Regions from separate parts of the Homo sapiens genome. Here region 1 is linked to region 2. Evidence: promoter capture Hi-C in 16 types of primary human blood cells and fetal thymus (Javierre and others, 2016). All regions are on one chromosome and are shown on one strand. Each heading gives the region's core, a stretch centred on a gene start or on the middle of the fragment in contact. The rest is flanking DNA. Distances are from core to core; before and after follow the strand shown. Region 1 holds the start of CALU (calumenin). Region 2 holds the start of ARF5 (ARF GTPase 5).

What was found. Contacts are between HindIII fragments. The CHiCAGO score rates a contact against its expected background, and 5 or more counts as called.
Region 1: a fragment that was not itself captured here is called in contact with the fragment with the promoter of ARF5 in region 2 in 1 of 17 cell types (fetal thymus); the score reaches 6.7 in fetal thymus.

The regions. Positions count from the first base shown.
Region 1 is chr7:128,736,435-128,742,738 of GRCh38, reverse strand. CALU (calumenin) reads right to left here and starts at 3,380. Exons shown (of 7, transcript NM_001219.5): 1 at 3,307-3,380. RefSeq lists an enhancer at 3,044-3,143 and silencers at 3,424-3,563, 3,634-3,773. The HindIII fragment of the contact is 1,874 bases long and covers 805-2,678 here.
Region 2 is chr7:127,586,162-127,592,810 of GRCh38, reverse strand. It overlaps ARF5 (ARF GTPase 5), which reads right to left and starts at 4,400. Exons shown (of 6, transcript NM_001662.4): 1 at 4,246-4,400; 2 at 3,648-3,728; 3 at 3,217-3,326; 4 at 2,674-2,745; 5 at 1,723-1,848; 6 at 1,111-1,598. The coding sequence starts at 4,312. The coding sequence ends at 1,512. LOC105375490 (a long non-coding RNA gene) reads left to right here and starts at 2,965. Exons shown (of 5, transcript XR_007060511.1): 1 at 2,965-3,055. It overlaps LOC105375489 (a long non-coding RNA gene), which reads left to right and starts at 571. Exons shown (of 3, transcript XR_007060513.1): 1 at 571-682; 2 at 807-998; 3 at 2,860-2,942. RefSeq lists enhancers at 3,074-3,699, 3,700-4,326, 4,327-4,952, 4,953-5,579 and a silencer at 4,074-4,563. The HindIII fragment of the contact is 7,240 bases long and covers 1-6,649 here.

The sequences.
Region 1 (6,304 bases), core at 492-2,991, 1.2 Mb before region 2:
TGGTTTCTTCGATCCATCCAAAAATGTCCTTAAAAGCTCTAAATTCTTATCACTTCTCCCTACCCCACCCTTCAGGTAAGAACTTAGAGCTTTCAAGGAAGTTTTTGTCCTTAGTGTCCATAGTGTATCCATTGGACCAGTATTGCGAGCAATACATGGCCCAAACTTTCAATTTTGGTAAAGTGCCATTGGTCACAGAATACTTAAATTGTTTCAGGGAAATTTAGATGTTTAAATTCAACTTCACAAGAACGTTAACACTGAGTGATCCAACAGTTATTATGGTTGACCAAAGACCCATTGCTCAATGTTAACAATTGGGAGAAATGGGTGTGGTAGTAAAATTCCAGTTCTCTGAGCTGGATGGATATTCACCAGAAAAGGCATTTATTTCTCCATAACGCAGCAAAAGCAGGATCTCATTGTTTAACTGTCTACTTCAATTGGAGATTACAGGGAACAGACTGATAGCAATTTAACTATACTAAGGCCCAGGTTATGAGATCTCGAAAATGAAGTTATCTTGTTATCTATCTGACATTCTTTACTTACAAACTTTAGTACTATACCAATGGACTATCACATAAAAGTGATGGCATCCTTCATGATTTGATAAAAGTCATGATACCAACACATAATTTATTTAACGTCTCTCTAGTGATGAAGTTACATCTGTTCATCAATACATTCTAATTATATTGTGTGATGGAGGGAATACATTTATAAGACAGCTGAGATAATAGAAGTGTAAAATCTGGCTGCAGAAGAAAAACCCTGAGAATGTCTGAAACTATTACTCAAGCTTCATTAGTTCTATAACCAAAGCAACCCAGCACAAACTTTAAATTTTTCTGGCTACAGAATAAAAAACTTTTTAAAGAAAAAAGTTCTAGAAATTCTGAGAGAAAAAAGTTTCCTTTTCGTTGACAAGCCTTAATACATAATCAATTGTGAGAGAAATGCTATTTGAAATGTAGGGATAGGAGCCTTGGTTTCTAGTTGTAATTTTGCTGTGCATGTGTAACATGCGTGACACTGTTGAGAATTTGGTAGTTATTTTAGCTCAAACTTCCTTCAGTGCCAGATGTCTATAAATAAATTTAAGATCCTAGAAGACCTACCTACTATGATCACTCTAGCTGGAAGTGATCTGTTATCTTTTTCTCTTTTTGGACAAAAAGGGTATGATCCAATCTAAACTTCTATAAAACTCGTCTGAACCACTCAAAAACAATGACCATAGGTTACCTTAAGTTGTCTCCTTAGCTCCCCTTTAGAATCGACATTTCTGGAAGAATGTCTACATATCATTCTAATACAAATTATTACCCCTATATTGTCCCTAATACATTGTCTTGCACTTTTTTGATACCAATACATTTTACTGGATTAATACATCTTACTGAATTAATTGGGCGGTACTTGGCAGCAATGTGGTTCCTGCCTGCCTGTGTTCTCCAACTTCCAATTCCGTTTACTGGATCTGGCAATCAGCCAGGAACAGGCAAAAGTGTTATTTCAGCTGTCTTAACTCTAATACATAAATTACTGCATCAGCAACATCCATACTTAAGAGTTCAGAGAGTGAGAATCTAGGGCCTTGTGGCCTAGCTAGCATTTCCAGTGGCTATCCTTGGCTACACCTCTGTCCTTTCAATATCCCTGGTATACCTACGTTACAGAAAATCTGTGTTAACACCAATGTACTAGGGTGTGGTGTTATATACCTCTAGTCTCAGCTACTTGGGAGGCTGAGGCAGGAGGACTGCTTGAGCATGGGAGTTCAAGGCTCCACCTGGTCAACATACTGAGACCCTCAACTCTAAAATAAATAAATTTTAAAAAATAACACCAATATATAGATCCCAATACTGCTCTAATGGATATTAAGTGCTATCAATAAGTACTTCTTGACACATCACTGGATGAATGAAAACAAACAATGATTACATTGAGAGTGACAATGAGTTGGTTTCAAAGCTATATTGAGTACTATTCACTCAGGCATACTCAATACATTTTTGTGAGCTCATGGCTTTCCTACTTGTGATTCTCAAAAGAATCCTATTGGAACCCCCCCACCCCCCAATCACAGTAAAACCTCAGATTAGGTCTTGGCAAACTCATTTTCTTGACAAATACAACTTAGAGGTTATATCTGGTCCCTCATTTGGATTATACTATATAAATTCTTCAGTGATTACTGTCGTTTGGTATTTGGTTAATTAAATCTACTGAGTGAGGTCAAACTTGCATTTGTCTTGTGTCAAGTTCCATTCTATGGCAGACTAATTTAACAGAGATTCCAAGGTTCTCTGCCTCCAAGCTGAATAAGCTACTAGAACAAAAAACAACTAGAAGCCACCTTATTCCCAATTCATTAACGTTGACTTCATGGTCCACACCAGAAAATGAACGCAACTCAATTCTCGAAGACACTATTCTAGAATTTTATACACTTAGGAATTCAGATCACAGGCTCAAAAGTTTTAGCAGGAGACCCACGGAGCTTGGGCCTTGATGCAAAAGCAGCTTTTGAAACTGCAAGCCACTCTACGCTTAATCGCGGCAGCTATAGGGAATTAAGTTTATTTCTGACCGCAGCATGCTAAAAATCAGTAGGATATGGGGCTAGAAGCAACAAAAAACGTAACAAAAATTAATTCCCCAATAAAGCTTTAAAAACTATTTTCCGTCGCTAACTGAAGTACGTAGCCAAATATGGAAGCTCTAAACATTCAGCTTTTCTTTAAAATCATAGATATCACCTAGTGTCGTCACTCGTTCTCTCCCCCCTTGTTTCTGCACCCTTTAGGTGAGTGAACACGACCTTGGCAGATGCACCCTACTGTCGGGATGTGGCCTTGGGGCGGAGCTGGCAGATACAAGCAGGATGGTGAGTGGAGGCGGCAAGGAACTCTTACAATAACACTATCCAAATGCCCTCCGACCTTCCGGAGGCAAAAAATGACCCTCTGGTGCCAGAGACTCGGTGAGTGGCGTGACCTAGAGATGGAGGACCAGGACGCAGCAAACCAGGCACAGAACAGTACCCAACGGGACAGAGTTCCACCGGACCAGCCCCCTTCCCAGAGCGCGCGGTAAGACGGGCGGCGGCCTCCATCCCAGGCTGCACACAGAGGGTCCCGGGATCTCCAGCAGCATCAGGCCTGGGACCCGGGCGCCAGCAGAGACAGCGGCACCGAGTGAGGCAGTCCCCTGCCGCGCCAAGAACAAGACCGGGGACAGAAAGAAAGCGAATAAAGATGAGGCAGTGGTGAAGGGGCTGGGCATCACCGTACTTACCTTTCCTCGTAGCCCCCACAGCACAGGATGCCGTGGCCGCCGCTCACCCACCGGCTCAGCTCACGCGCGCAAGCACCGCCCAACCGGAAGCGGGTCCGCACCCCGCCCTCATCCGCCTCGCCGGCGGCCTCCCGACCAATCATCAGCAAACCCGCCGCTGTCGCATAGCGTCCCCGAGTAGCCATTGGTCTAACAATCGCATAGCCGGGATTGGCTGGAAAGCGCCACGTCCCCGGGACCGCGCCGAGTTGCGTGGAGCGGATTCCCGCCCAACTCTCGTCCCCGGGATTGTTGGGACGGCGGGCTCCAGCCCCAGCCCCAGCCCCAGCCCCGTACTGCGGGTGGCGTGGGCGCGGCCGTGTGGCCGCCACGTCCCCATTCACAGCTCATGACTCTGCTTCCACAGGGCTTCTTAGACTATCCTGCTAGTTATCTTCATTCCCACAAGACCACCAGGGCGGAATTAATCCGACTGAATCAGTCACCAACTTTATTGAACAATCCCAACTTTTTCTTTCCCTTCAGCGCTGCGCCCTGCGCTATCTACAGGAGGCTCTTCAGTCTTTGGCACCAGTGTATCTTTTAGCTCCATCTCCCAACACTCCCCCTCATCTTGCGCTCTGGGCACCATCATCTGTTTCCTAACAACCGGTCCTTTTTCATCTCTTAAGATTTTTGATCAAGAGGCTTCCTCTGCCAGGAATAAGTGCGTTTTCCTGATTTTCTGCCTTGCCAATAGAAGTCCCAGTTCAGATGTTAGCTCTAGAAGCCTTCCCTGACCTCACTAAGCATAATTCTTACCTTATTTACCATCATAGCTGTTTATAGCTTCAGTACACTTTGCCAAATTCTGCTATAAAATGTAGCTTATCCATCTGTCCTCTTCTAGAGTAAGCTCCTGGGTAGGTATCTGTCTATTCATCTTTATATCTGCAACTCTGAGCTTACTGCCCAGCTCAGTAATGTTAAGTGAAGGGAATGGGCCGAACCCGTTGCATGTCCCTGAAAATTTAATTTCATGTCATGAAATTAAAACAAATATCAAATAAAGGCTACTATAGCTTCAACACAAATGGAATGTAAACCTGTGGCATTCTTAGCACATAAAGCCTCTGTAGTTTAAAATCAAATTGAGACAAGTTGTAAACTCATGAAACAGTTAAGCTCATGAAAGCAAGCTAGTTACTGTCAACGTGAAAGGTTTACAACTAATCCTTCTGGCATTCAAAGGAGTGTCAGTGACCCTTGGTGGTAGTCAGGGAAGGCTTCAGAGGAAGATATGACTAAGGCTGGACTAAGGAAGTCCCAAATGGACTATTCAGCAAGAAGAGTAATAGGAATAAGGACAAGTGGAGGGCAGAGTGGGAGGTAAATTCTCAGGCCAGGTAGCAAATGAGGAAGGTTAAAAAAAGGGGTGGGGGGAAACAATGAAAGAAAAGCATGGATAGTAAGTTTGGAGAGGTAATGGAAGATCTTGTCAATTTGAGGAACCTGAACTGAAGACAGTGGGAACTGTGGGTCTTCCTGGGAAAGTTTCTAAGCTTGTGCCTACAGGGAAGCCATCTAATGGGTATTAACAATAAAACAGGCTACCTCAGGAGGCATTATTTCGAAAACAGTTTTTAAAATACCTCCTTAAGGATCACTTGAGGCCAGGAGTTTGAGACCAGCCTGGGCAAAATAACGAGACCCTTCCTCCCCCTATCTCTACAAAAAAACAAAAACTAAAAATTAGCTGGGTGTGGTGGCACACACATGTAGTTCAAGCTAGTTGCTTGAGCCCAGGAGGTTGAGGCTGCAATGAACTATGACTGTACCACTTCACTCCAGCCTGGGCAACAGAGCAAGACCCTTTCTCTTAAAAAATAAAAATAACAACTCCTTAAGGTCAGGCACTGTGTTATGTGCTGGTGAACCCAAAGTAAACAGGACATCGTCCCTGTCCTCAAGGAACTCAGCTTAATGGTGCGCCATCCATCCTGGAATTGTCCTAGTAAAGGCTAAACAGGTAGTGAGGGTGCCAGAGATAGGGCCCTCCAACCCTGAGGTTCCCTAATGGAGAAGGGCCTGGCCTAGCAAGGGAAAGGGAAATGGAAATGAACCTTTATATACAAGAGTTTTTTTGTTTGTTTGTTTTGTTTTGTTTTTCTTTTTTTTTGAGATGGAGTTTTGCTTTTGTCGCCCAGGCTGTAGTGCAATGGTGCGACCTTGGCTCACTGCACCTCCGCCTCCTAGGTTCAAGTGATTCTCCTGCCTCAGCCTCCCAAGTAACTGGGATTACAGGCATGTGCCACCACGCCTGGCTAATTTTTGTATTTTTAGTAGAGACAAGGTTTCACCATGTTGGTCAGGCCAATGTCGAACTCCTGACCTCTAGTGATCCGCCTGCCTCGGCCTCCCAAAGTGCTGGGATTACAGGCATGAGCCACGGTGCCCAGCCACAAGAGAGATTTTAAAAGTGGAAATAAGTCCTGAGCTTAGTGACCACTCGAATGAAAGAAATGAAGAAGGAGCACTCAAAAGTTAAAAGGTTTAATCATGGGAGACTAGGAGAATGAGCTAGGTGCATGGAATGAGGGAAGTCAATTGAGTTCAAGACATAGGAAGTCTATGTGATGGCGGAATAGCCAAAGAGAAAGAGCCAAGAGCCTGGAGGAGATATTTGGGAGGGGTTGTTGGCTAGCAGATGGCTGATGGAGCCATGAGAACAGATAAACTTTTTGAGGAGACGAAAGCAGATTAGGCCTCATGGGAGCCCCAGAGTTAGAAAGTAGGTGGAGGAAGGAAGAAAAGGACCTGAGGGACAACACATATTAGAAATGCCGCCAATAGCTGCACCCGAGGCCATCGAGTGAGAGCAGCACTGAAGGACTGCTTGGGGCCGGCATGATGGTGTCACCATAAAAGGCTGACATTCATCTCCAAGCTTCCCATCTCTGCTCATGGGTGCTACTGAACTTTCAATGTTTCCTGTGTGCAGACACTGTTCTAGGAACTG
Region 2 (6,649 bases), core at 3,151-5,650:
ATCCTCCCGCCTCAGCCTCCTGAGGTGCTGGGACCACAGGTGTCCATCTCCATGCCCAGGTAATTTTTTATTTTTGTTTTTTGTAGAGATGGGGTCTTGCCATGTTGCCCAGGCTGGTCTTTAACTTCTGGGCTCAAGCAATCCTCCTACCTCAGCCTCCCAAAGTGCTAGGATTACAGGCATGAGCCACAGTGCCCAGCCACCCGTGGTTCCTTATACCTGCTTTCCTATTCCCCATAGGAGGGGTCTTCCCAAGTAGCAAGAGTCTCAGTGGTGTGCAGCAAGGAACTACAAGCCCCAGACCCCACCGATGTTTTATAAAATAAGGGTAATAGACTATTAGTGGCAGAATTCCCTGGGTAATTTTATTTATTTATTTAATTTATTTATTTATTTTGAGACGGAGTCTCACCCTGTCACCCAGGCTGGAGTGCAGTGGCACGATCTCAGCTCACTGCAAGCTCCGCCTCCCAGGTTCACACCATTCTCCTGCCTCAGCCTCCTGAGTAGCTGGGGCTACAGGTGCCTGCCACCACGCCTGGATAATTTTTTGTATTTTTTTTTTTCTAGTAGAGATGGGGTTTCACCGTGGTCTCGATCTTCTGACCTCGTGATCCGCCTGCCTCAGCCTCCCAGAGTGCTGGGATTACAAGCGTGAGCCACTGCGCCCGGCCTCCTCTGGGTAATTTTAAAGATGCATATTGTTGGGCATCAGACTAGTCCTGATGAATCACATTTTCTGAAATGTACCTCAGGATTCGTATTATTAACGCACATTCTCTCCCCCTCTAATTTTAATGTGTAAGGCAAACATTAAGAACGGCTCTAAGTAGCTACGAGAATGATGGGAAACAATTACGTGGTTCATGGAACTATGAAGGGAGATCCTGTAATCTTCAGCAAAGGCTCCTTGGAGCTGGGAAGGAATGAGATTTGCACCACTGTAAACCCTACAGTATTTCCAGCCCAAGAATAAGGAGGGAGAAGCTGAGCTGAGGGTATGTGTGGGTGGGGTTGCCCTGCAGCCTTAGCTGCTTTGATCCTCTCCCACGTTGTCTCTTGGTACCCAGTAACCTAGCCTCTCCTTTGCAGGCTACAGACAACACCGTGTACAAACCACAGCAAATTTATTACTCAAGATCCAGTGCCACATTATAGCACCACCCGAAGCCCTCACCTTCCCCCTCCCAACCTGGCCCCTAGAGTACACCCAAAACAGAAAAAAAAAAGGAAACCCAGATCCCTGCTCCTCCTCTGGAAGAGGGGGCCTTGGCCAGGAAGCCCCTTCCATAGGTCCCAGCAGGCAGGAGAGTGGACCCCTCTGTGCCCAGAGAGCAAGGCTCCAGGCTCCAACAACAGAGAGAACATGCAGGCAGGAGCAGGAGCAGAGGCCTGTGGCTATGGGGGAGGAAAAGTGGGAGGAAAGGGCACTGCCTGAGGAGTCCGGGAGTCTGGTCATCCCGGGGATGCACGCAGGAGCTTCCGGGCATCAGGGGCCTGCCCCTGGCTGGTTAGCGCTTTGACAGCTCGTGGGACAGCCAGTCCAGACCATCGTACAGACCTGTGCCTTGGGTGGCACAGGTGGCCTGGACATACCACTGTGGGGAAAAGGAAAGAAAGAGGTCAGCAACCAGGAACAAAAGGAATGCCTTTATATCTCTGTCCCAGCCTGCAGCTTCCCTCAAGAGGCAGGATTCAGCACCAGGTGGGCAGGACCCCTACCGTGCGGCTGCGTAAGTGCTGTAGCCCCAGCTTGTCAGTCAGCTCGCTCACGGGCATGGCGTTGGGCATGTCCTGCTTGTTGGCAAATACCAGCAGCACTGCATCCCGCAGCTCGTCCTCCTGCAGCTGAGAGAGGAGAAGAGAAGGTGGGACCCAGGCTGCGTCTCCTCTACTGTGTTGGGGAATTCCCTTTCTACCTCCTAGCATCTTGATTGGAAAAAAAAAGTATTGTGCAGTCTGCCGTTGAAGACAAGACATAGTTGTAAATGAGCTTGAGGTGACCTGAGCCCATAAGTCCAGAAAAGAAAGACCTTTTCCTAATTTGAGTACTTGCCTAGGCAAAATGACAACATTTCCAAATGGAAAAGGCAGGAATGTAAAATGTTTCTCTTTGCCACATATAAGTCCCATCTCTCCCACAACTTCTCAGACTCAGATGTAAAGACATGAGAATGCGGCCGGGCGCAGTGGCTCACTCCTGTAATCCCAGCACTTTGGGAGACCAAGACGGGTGGATCACCTGAGGTTGGGGGTTCAAGACCAGCCTGGCCAACATGGTGAAACCCCGTCTCTACTAAAAATACAAAAATTAACTGGGCATGGCAGCGGGCGCCTGTAATCCCAGCTACTTGGGAGGCTGAGGCAGGAGAATTGCTTGAACCCGGGAGACGGAGGTTGCAGTGAGCCGAGATTGCACCATTGCACTCCAGCCTGGGCAACAACAGCAAAACTCCCATTTCAAAAAAAAAAAAAGACAAGACAATGCACAGAAAAAGTGAAAAAGTCACTCCCATCCAAAACAGGGTGAGATACACAATGTGTCTGTCCACAAAGAAAAACTTATATTCCTGGTCTTCAATGCCTGTTGGGGGCTCCCTGACTTCTATACCACTACAGAGATCACTCTGTCCCCAAGCTGAGGGCTCAGTTCCCAGGGCTCTGGGTACTCACCATCTTCTGGAGTTCATCAGCAGATTCTTGGACCCGCTCCCGGTCATTACTGTCCACCACAAAGATGAGGCCCTGGGCAGGAAGGAAGGAAGAAAGGAGAAGCAATCACTTCTGCCTGGGACATACCGTAGTGTGGCCCTTTCTGTTTTCTTCCCATTTGTAATTGTGTCAATCCTTCTCATCTAGTAAACTCTACAGAAGTTTACAGAACTCTATAGAAGCTCTACAGGAGTCATGGCACAAACTAGAGACCCCACTGCAAAGAGGAAGTAGTTTATCCAAAGATGTGCAAGGAAATAAAGACATGTTATGAGGGCTAAATCAGGCAGCCTGGTCCCAGAATCCTGCTTCTAAAGAGAAGTCCAAGCTGGGGAAGACTAAGGTGAGTTCTGAAGAGTGAGTAGGGGATAGCCAAACAGAAGGGGTAGAAGTGGGGAAGGGTTTTTTCCTTGGCCTGGGGGCCCAGCCTAGGCCAACAATTCTGTTCTCCCAGCCCTAACACCTTTTCCCGTGGGGTTAGAAAGTCCCCTCCCAACACTCCACCTGAGTGTTCTGGAAGTAGTGCCGCCACAGAGGCCGAATCTTGTCCTGGCCTCCCACGTCCCAGACTGTGAAACAGATGTTCTTATATTCCACTGTTTCTACATTGAAGCCTGCAGATAATTGGAAAAAAAAGATGAGAAAACTCCTGAAAGAAAGGAACTCACTAAAACTACTTAGATTTCAGCAGGGACACAAAACCAGAAGGCAATGATCAAGGCCCAGGGGAACAGAACCCCAGAACTGGCGGTCAACAGGGCGGGGCTAGGTCACATCCACCCTGCCTCCGGTATCCACGTAGAGATACCCTGACCCACTTCTCAAATAGCTGTATCTGGTGTCAGGGTCAGCTCCAGAAAAGTGGCAGAACTGGGAGCAGACCCCGCGAGGGCCCGCCGCGGCGCTCCCGCTCCCTGCTTCGTCCCCGGGCTCACCTATGGTTGGGATGGTGGTGACAATCTCCCCCAACTTCAGTTTGTACAGGATTGTGGTCTTGCCAGCCGCATCCAAGCCAACTGCAACGGAAAGGGGCACAGGGATGGAGATGGGAGCGAGGGAGCCCCCTAGAGACCAGGGAAAGGGAGAGGCCACAACAGCTGATGGTGACTGGGGCGGAGAGCGGGAGCGCCTCCAGGTGCGCGTCGTTATCTACCTTTGAGGCCTGGAGGGCAGTCGGGTGGCGTGAGCCAACTCCAAAGAGGGCGCGGAGCGGGAGAGGACTGGGAGGCAAGGGGCACGGGAGGTAGGCCGCGCTCGTTTTAAAAGTCGTCTCCAAGGGCGGAATCCTCCCTTCTTACCAGCCGGGCTGGGGCGGAGGGAGCTTCACCCCACCCAGGCCCGCAGCTCCGGGTGTCAGGCCCCGGGGTCGGCGATGCAGACCGGGACCCGCCCGAGAGCAGAGGCCCCGGGGCGTTATGAGGTGGGTGACTCGGGGCCAGAGACCCAGGTGAGCGGGGCTGGAGGGACGCGGGGGCGGAAGGGCTGCGCCGGGGCCGGCGCCCCGGTCCGGGCCGCGCGCTCGATCTGCCTCACCCATGAGAATCCGCATCTGCTTCTTCCCGAAGATCCGCGAAAAGAGCGCGGACACGGTGAGGCCCATGGCGGGGCCCGGGGAGGGGCGCGGGCACCGACGCGGGGTGCGGGCTGGAACTGGCCGGCCGCGGGGGGATGGGGCGCAGCAGCAGCAGGAGGAGGCTCCGCCGCCGCCTCCGCGCGTCGCTGCCCTCCCGACGTCACCGCGGGCCCGCCCCCGTCCGGGCCCCGCCCCCGGCTCTCGGCCCCGCCTCCCCCGGCTCTGGCTCCTAGGGGAGCTGAAGCTCCGCGAGTTGCCGCTGCTGGCCTGGGTCCCGTGCGGCCCTTACTTGGGAACGGGTCTAGGTCTCTAACGCGCCTGCCAGGCCTGTGGCCGCCGAACCGGCAGCCCGAGCGCGGCTGAGGAAAGGATTCATCGCTCCGCAGCGGCCCCTGCCCCCATTTTCAGTGGCCGGCCGCTGGGCTTTGGTTTGTTGCGTCCAGGCCCCTAGGGGCTCCGGTTTTAGCCCTTGGGAACCAGTAGCACTGAACGTGTGCACCACTCTCCTTTGGGGAGTGGAAGCTGCGATTAGGGGTCTTGGTCCTCCCTTTACTGCCTCATCTTCCACCGAGGGACTTGCGCGTAGTAGGTGGTCGTGTGAAGAGTGCGCGGGAGGTAGGGGAAGGTGCCCGAGTGCTAGCTAGCTTCCATGGTTCCTCAAAACGCCTACTTCCTAATTCCCAATCCGCAGAACCAGTGTAAGATTCCCGGCCTTGGGCGGCGGGGTCACAGACCCACTCCTGGGCTGTTGGAGAAGTCCACCTTCGTTTGGATCGCCCTGCGGGCCCCGCCTCTCAGTCCAGGCGCTGGCCGCTTTGCCGAAGTTCCTCACTTTGCCACAGACTTGTGGACCTGGCTTATTCTTGCACATCCATTCAGGATTTTGTGAAGATCTTGACTCCGTAGACCCAAAGAGCTTCACATGTCATTTCCCTGCCTCATTTTAACATCTGAGAGGAGAATAGCAAAATAGGAATGAAATTCTTCTGCGGTGGAGACTGGCTCATTGCCAGGCATTATTAGGCCTAACAAATGCTTGTTCAGTTGAACTGGACTGATAGATTCTCAATGGAGCGAGGGTAGGTGTTATGTCTACTCTGGATTCCCAGTGGGCTTCTAGGATCAATTGTTTATGGACTCGAGGTAAACTGAGCTGGGAATAAAAAAACCTTCACTCATTCATTTGCTTTTTCAGCAGATATTTACTGAGCACCCACCACTTGCCAGCACGTGATTTCAGGCTTTAGTTCAAATCTTAATTCTGCCATTTCTTGAGGATTTGGCTTCAGCACTCCTCATAACTCTTCCGTTATTTCATCATCTATAAAATGAGACTTGTTCTAACTTAAGGGGTTATGGTGAATCTTAAAATGATTTGATAATGTGACTGAATGTTATGTATAATACAGCTTGATGTTATTTGGGCCACTGAGAAACGGGGTCTGAACAGACCTCCAGGGCCTGCCCCATCCTGATCTGCAAAGTCTGTAACAAGGACAGACTTTGGGAAACAGGTATGAGTGAGTGAATGACTTTCCTTTTCTCTTCAGTCATAGACTTGCATCCCTAAGAAGGCTTTTACGAGGCTGAAGAGTACATTTTAGAGAGTTCCAATATAATAACAGAACTAGTGTTCACCAAGTTAGGTCAATTCTACATTTAGCTCTTTTATCAGCCTCTTTGCTTCCATCTCTGTTGTCACTACCTTCTGTTCCCCATGACTGAAAGTCTCCTCACAGGTTTCCTGCCCCTTGTTCCCTCCAACATGTCATACAAGTCTTGATGACATCCCACTTTTCAGATTAAAATCCATTAGGGCCTTACTATAACCCAAGATAAAATTTAAATGCCATAAGTTGGGTCCCTACCTATTGTGCCAGCCCCTCTGTTGTCACCTCCTTCACATACCCTAAGCTACTGAATGCTTTCTGGGTGAGTCAAACTCCGATACCCTACAGGTCTTTGCATTTTTTTCCACCTGCCTGGAATGCTAGTTTCCCTGATCTCTGGTTAGGTGGACAATCACGACTCATCCTTCAAATCCCAAAGTATTATTCCCAAGAGCCTTCCATGCCTCACCTAGACAGGCCTCTTTCCTCTTAACTTTCATACCACTTTGAATATACCCAGACATACTGGTGTGATAGCAGGACATATTTGTATGTCTGGTTCCTCACTAGATTGCGAGCTCCCTGAGGGCAAGGTCGTGTCTCTTAATGGTGTTACCATCTGGCACAGCACGTGATACGTTGAGAATCAGACTGATTAGAACTCCTAAACTTACTAGCTGTGTGACCTTGGGCATGTTACGTATAACCTTTCTGCCTCATGTTTTCATATCTGTAAAATAGTGCTAATGAGTAT